Regions from separate parts of the Homo sapiens genome. Here region 1 is linked to region 2. Evidence: promoter capture Hi-C in human tissues and cell types (Jung and others, 2019). All regions are on one chromosome and are shown on one strand. Each heading gives the region's core, a stretch centred on a gene start or on the middle of the fragment in contact. The rest is flanking DNA. Distances are from core to core; before and after follow the strand shown.

Region 1 (3,385 bases), core at 878-3,377, 1.4 Mb after region 2:
TATGAATAAATGGTCAAAGTTTCAAAACCAAAACAAAGGAAAGCCTTGTGTTTAGACTTTTAGAAAATATAGTATCAGGAAAGAAAACAGTGGGATGGCTCTCTTAGAATCATAATTACAGATAGAACTTTTTTTAAGTTTTTTAACTATAATATACTTTTTTTTCCCTTAGGGTGTCGCTCTGTTGCCCAGGCTGGAGTGCAGTGGCGTGATATGAGCTCACACCGCAACCTCCGCTTTCTGGCTCAAGCCATCCTCCAGCCTCAGTTCCCGAGTAGCTGGGACCACAGGCACGAGGCACCACACCCACTTCTTTTTTATTTTTTCTTTTGTATTTTTTTGTAGAGATAGGGTTTCACCATGTTGCCCAGGCTGGTCTCCAACTTCTGAACTCAAAGAGATCCGCCCACCTCGGCCTCCCAAAGACCTAGGATTACAGGCGTGAGCCACTGCGCCTGACCAAATATATCTTTTAAGAATAAATAATCTAGTAAGGTTATTGATGAGTCATTATATCACCTGATACAATTTTTAACATTCATATATTTTCAGGAATATGAATTTTCAGTCATATTTCCTCTTTTTAACTACTTTTACAGTTCTCTAAACAATGCTTCAAAAACATTAACAGAAAAAAATATTTAATCAGTGATACAAGAGAAGACTGTTTTATATGCTTTTCTTTGACAACTAGCAGCACATTGATGCAAGAGTTTATAGACAAAATGGTGATTCATAGTAACTGTAATCTTCTCTGTGTTTATTGTACTTTACACCCATCTTATCTAATCCTCTCAACCACCCTGTTAAATTCAGAATCAGTATCTCCATTCTACAGATTAGAAAACTGAGGCTTCAGGATATGAAATAACTTGTTCAAGGTCACTCCTCTGGTGAGTGACAGAATGGACTCAACCCTGGGCCTGCCTGCTCCAATGCCTAGGCATAGGGTCAGGCTGGTGATAGGCCCTTTTTAAAGATTGGCTGATTCAATGAGCAAATGCATCTACTGTGAGAATATTAAAGGTAAGCCTGGACTGGATCCAAAGTCTTCTGACTTGATAACCAGTAAATCTTCCAGTAAAGTTTAGACATATTTTGAACTTTCTCTTGTTTCTGCCTGCAGTTGCACTCTCCTGAGCCTGCTAAGTCCCCACTATTTTCTACAAAAGAACAAAGAAAAAATACCAGGCGAGAGTGACCCATAGCCTGAGCCCCAGGCTGTTTTACCCACGAGGCCCTAGCAGGGGATCTTTTCCACTTTTGTGCCATAGATCCCTTTGGAAGCCTAAGTGAAGCTCCTGGAACTTTTTTAAAATGCCCCACAAAGAAAGCCAACTATTTTAAAATAAAATTTTCAAAAAACTTTTAAAAACTCGGCCGGGCGCAGTAGCTCACGACTGTAATCCCAGCACTCTGGGAGGCTGAGGTGGATGGATCACTGAGGTCAGGAATTTGAGACCAGCCTGGCCAACATGGTGAAAACCCATCTCTACTAAACACACACACACACACACACACACACAAAATTAGCTGGGTGTGGTGGCACACGCCTGTGATCCCAGCTACTTGGGAGGCTGAGGCAGGAGAATCTCTTGAGCCCAGGAGGCGGATGTTGTGGTGAGCTGAGATTGCACCACTGCACTCCAGCCTGGGTAACAGAGCAAGAGTCATCTCAAAAAAAAAAAAAAACTTTAAAATACTAATTTGTAAATATGTGCTTATTTATTAATGCATTTAATAACAAGATTTAATAACAATGTCACAACTATATATTCAAAGTAGCAATTAGTATAAATGATGTTTTGGGATATTCGTAATCCCTGTAATGTGACATGAATATATCTATTGTTTCTATTGGTGAGAGAGATATTGTTAATATTAATGTGATGTATGGCCTATATTCTTTAATAAATAAAATTACAAATTTCAGTTTGAAGTTAATGAAAACAGATTTTTTTCATCCAAGTTCATGGACCTTCTTACCCTCCTGAATTAAGAAATCAAAGCTAATCTTAAATAAGTCACAGCTAAATCTTTTCAAAAACTAAAAAATTTTAAAATTCTTAAATTCTGTCAAAAAAATGCTTAAGCAATATATATATGTTTCCCTTGATTAGTGTGAGATATTCACTTTAATATGAATATTATGAATAATATGAATATTCACTTTAATATGAATAATATGAAGCAAGACTCCAAAAATAAGCATGGATCTAGGACCTAGGGAGATGTTAAAACAACCTTGCCTGAGTCTCATGACAGTAATCAACAAATAATAGTATTATTTGCCCATAATAATAATTCAGTTTGTATGCATCTGACAAAGGACTAATATCCAGAATCTACAAGGAACTCAAACAAATCAGCAAGGAAAAAAAACAAACAAACAAATAATCCCATCAAAAAGTGGGCTAAGGACATGAATAGACAATTCTCAAAAGAAGATATACAAATGGCCAACAAACATATGAAAAAAAAGTTCAATATCACTAATTATCAGGGAAATGCAAATCAAAACAACAGTGAAATACCACCTTACTCCTGAAAGAATGGCCATAATTTAAAAATCAGAAAATAACAGATGTTGGTGTGGATGTGGTGAAAAGAGTGCATTTTACACTAGTGGTGGGAATGTAAACTAGTACAACCACTATGGAAAACAGTGTGGAGATTCCTTAAAGAACTAAAAATAGAACTACCAGTTGATCCAGCAATCCCCCTATTGGGTATCTGCCCAGAGGAAAAGAAGTCAATATAAGAAAAAGACACTTGCACACGCATGTCTCTAGCAGCACAGTTCGCAATTGCAAAGATATGAAACCAGCCTAAATGTCCATCAGCCAACAAGTGGATAAGGAAAATGTGGGATATATAACTACTCAGCCTCAAAAAGGAAAAAAATAATGGCATTCGCAGCAACCTGGATGGAGTTGGAGACCATTATTCTAAATGAAGTAACTCAGGAATGGAAAACCAAACAGGAATGGAAAACTAAGCTATGAGGACGCAAAGGCATGAGAATGATATAATGGACTTTGGAGACTCAGGGGGAAGGTTGGGAGAGGGCCAATGGATAAAAAAGTACACATTGGGTACAGTGTACATTGCTCAGGTGACAGATGCACCAAAATCTCAGAAATCACCACTTAAGAACTTTTCCATGCAACCAAACACTACCTTTTCCCTCAAAACTATTGAAATATAATAGAAATAAAAGAATAAAAAAATCATAATAATAATTCAGTTTGACATGACAAACATTGAGCAGCTACTATGCTAGACACACTACTAGTGTTTTTAAAAATACATTTTAAAAGTGAATACTTCTTTGTCATTTGTGCAGCATTTATCATTTTCAAAGCAGTTCTACACACATCTTTCT
Region 2 (3,228 bases), core at 48-2,547:
AGATGAACTAGGCCCTTAAAACTCCTCATGGCTCCCTACCCACCACACTAGTGTTAACGGCTCGATTAGGGCTCTGTAGGAAAGGGAAAGAAGTTTGAATCAAAAATTTTCTTTTTTTTTTTAATAATTTAAACAATCAGTAAGGAATGTGCAATTTGATGTCGTTTGCAAAGAAAGTTTTTAGGAACAGGGCTTTTTATCCTATTATGTTTGTTCTTTGCACGTAATTATTTGATTTAAATGGTACTTTTCTTAAAATTTTTATTTACATTGTATTTTATATTGCAAGAACTTCAAATACAGCCCTCACAATAAATCAGTAACTGTTCGGTCTTTATCCAAACTGAACTTTTATAGAAGGATATAAGGAAGTCTCTATTCTTTAACAAATCATATCCAGTTGTTTTCTGTCCCTGATATCAATCAAAAGTTCATTTCTTCTGCCTTTAACCAAAAGAAGTTTACAAGGGAGGAACTCTTTATCTTCGAAAAAAATTTTGCATCTTAGATTTTATAACACCTAATGGGGTTAAGGATCTGTGTTGAAAGATCTTATCACTCTGTGTATAGTGTTACAAATCATAAATATAATTAAAGTATAAGTTTTCAACTGATGAGAGTATATGTGGAGGGGGAAAAACGAATCAAGTCCTGGTGTAACAGTTCTCTTCTTTTTCCCTTTCAATTCCATTAATAGAAAGAGTATTGAGAATTCATGCAAAATTCCAAACCAAGTTCCCATAGTAGCACTGAAATAAGTCTGCACACCATTTCCAATAGGAACTAGTAATGTAACACAATTAATGTCATTATAATTTGGAGTTACTTGAGTGATTTTGATTATTTTTGTATCAATTAACATTGCCATGGAAACAGTCTCTTGCTAAAATGGCTTAAGTCTTCACACATTTAATCAATATCCAGAGGTAGATTTAAAGACTTGAGGTGTTTCATTTATTTATTTATTTGCTTTAAACTATTCAAGGACGTTTCTGGGTACACAATGCCGTTACTTAAACAGTAAATTCCAGTTTCCTATGACTTCAAGTTATTTTTTACACTTCTGTAAATAAATCCTGCCCAAAAGATCACTTCTAGTTTCCTGGAATTTTGTTTTTGTTTTGTATTGTATTTGTTTTGTACTCAGATTTCTGTTAGAGGAACTCCACTGCACCAATTTTGCTACTAGACAAACCAGGAATCTTGGATTTGCGCGCTTTGGTGCTGACAGGCTTTTTCGGCCCCAGCGGGCTGCCGTAGCAGAGAAGAGCACTGATTGGCTGAGGCAGAAAAGTGCCCCTGCCTCGGCGCTTTCGGTTTTGGCTGGGATCATCCGCGGCGGCCGGGCTCGTGGGGCGCCTGGAGTGAGGGTTCTGGTTCCCGCCGGCGAGGTGAGCCGCACCGCTGCGCGGGCCGACGACGGGGCCGGGCGCAGCCCCAGGTTCGGTGCCCCAGTGTTCAGTCGCGCTGTGGAGCGGCGGCTGCAGCGGCCCTAGGCCGGGCGAGGCAGCCCCGGAAAGGGCCTGCGGTGAACAGGCTGGGGCTCCGGGAAGGGACCGCTGGGTGGCGGGTCCCCGCGAAATGCCGCGTCCAAGCTCTCCGCGCATGGAATGGCTGGGAGAGGTCTGATGGTGGGCGCCGGGACCGCCCTCAGCGAGGCGCCTAGACTGCGCGGAGAGGAGCGGCACCGTCCCGGCTCCTACCGAGTTGGCGTCCGAGATCAATTCAGGTTGTTGAAGTTCCCCAGGGAGCCCCGACGCTAATCCCAAGATTCGGCGGGAAAGCGGATCCCGAACCCAGGCCTAGGCTTCGCCTGTCTTCCAGGAGGGCTTCAGGGAATTGCGAACCCTCTCCTACATCGGGGTGGCTGCGCCTGACCACAGGAATTAAAGGCTGGACTCGCCTGTCTTACCAAGTTGTCAGGTCGAGGAACCCGATTGTATGGTCTTAAGTCCTATCGCCCAAGGTTTTCTGTGCGTATGCGTGTCCGCACACCTGCATAGCAGGCATTTTTAAGGTGTGTAGGATTAAGATGATGCGGATTACCCTGCCCCACTGCTCTTAGTAATACGTGACTATTGTAGAAAATTGCAAACATAGAAGACTTTAGTGAAGAAAATAATATTCACTGAACCCTTTCACCTACGATCATTTTCTCTTGTATGTGCTAGCTTCTACTTGAACTAAGAGTGTACATGTTTAATCACTTAACAGTGTAGTTTTCCACTTCCATTTAAAAACTCTTCCTAAATATTATTCTAATTTTGTATCTTCTTTTGATTGTCCTATCATTGTGGGTCCCAGTTTAGGTCCCGTAAATTATTCAGTCATTTCCCGATTGTGGGACATTAGATTGTTTTTGAATTTTTACATCATCTTAGCATCCCAGATAGTGCTTTGATAAACTCTTTTCCCCCTATTTTTTAGATTATTTCCTTGGACTAGATTCTCAGAAGTGAAATTATCAGATTAGATGCTGTCATCTGAAAGGTCTGTTTTAGGCCTTCATACACATTGCTGCAGTGTTTTCCAAAAAAGTTTTAGAGATGTTTGGTAATTTTACTTGCTTAAATATTGTGCAGAAATCTTGAGAGGCTTGTGTTTGTGGTGTGTGTGTGTGTGTGTGTGTCACTGGCGTTAATGCGTTAGACTACCTGAATGTTAGGGCAGGAAGAGACTTAAGTGGTCATCTGGCATAACTCCCTTATATTGCAGATGAGGAACCTGGGGCCATGAGAAGTGAAATTATGAGTTATCCAAGTCACACAGCTAATTAAGTAGCAGAGCTGGGATTAGAACTCAGGTTTCCTGCCTCCCAAGTGAGTACTCTGTGCTGTATCAGGCAGTCTCTCACTGAACTGTGGCATAGTAGATACTAGAATTTAAAAATTTGTTTACATCACCTGGGTTATTCTCTCCTTTTAAAAGTGTACTAACAGATTTTAATCATCGGAGAGACCTGTAACACTGAAAAATTGGAAAGTGATCATTTTCATGGCCAAGACTAGAAATCCATTATTTAGAATGGCAACCCCTTCAAGATTTTGACAGTTGTTTTCAGGTTCCCTATATGTTAGAATAAAACACCCCTGATTAATTATAACCTACACTCCATCATTTGGTTAGAATGTAGCTTTTGGTTATCATTTGCGGTACCTTGGAGATTTCTTTAAAACTCCTCACTTTAAAACCAAAGAACAATTTTTTTTATTTTTATTTATTTTTATT

Evidence for each region. The method cuts DNA at HindIII sites, captures the fragments that hold promoters and counts their contacts. A contact is called where the count stands out against the background at its distance.
Region 1: a contact is called between a fragment that was not itself captured here and the fragment with the promoter of LSM6 in region 2, in 1 of the 25 tissues and cell types used here (hippocampus).

Annotation. Positions count from the first base shown.
Region 1 is chr4:147,590,497-147,593,881 of GRCh38, forward strand. The region is part of intron 3 of LINC02507 (long intergenic non-protein coding RNA 2507); the gene reads left to right. Among named protein-coding and RNA genes, the nearest start is that of LINC02507, 22 kb to the left of the region's middle. The HindIII fragment of the contact is 8,929 bases long and covers 1-3,385 here.
Region 2 is chr4:146,174,421-146,177,648 of GRCh38, forward strand. It overlaps LSM6 (LSM6 homolog, U6 small nuclear RNA and mRNA degradation associated), which reads left to right and starts at 1,298. Exons shown (of 4, transcript NM_007080.3): 1 at 1,298-1,391. RefSeq lists a silencer at 1,448-1,507. The HindIII fragment of the contact is 5,524 bases long and covers 1-3,228 here.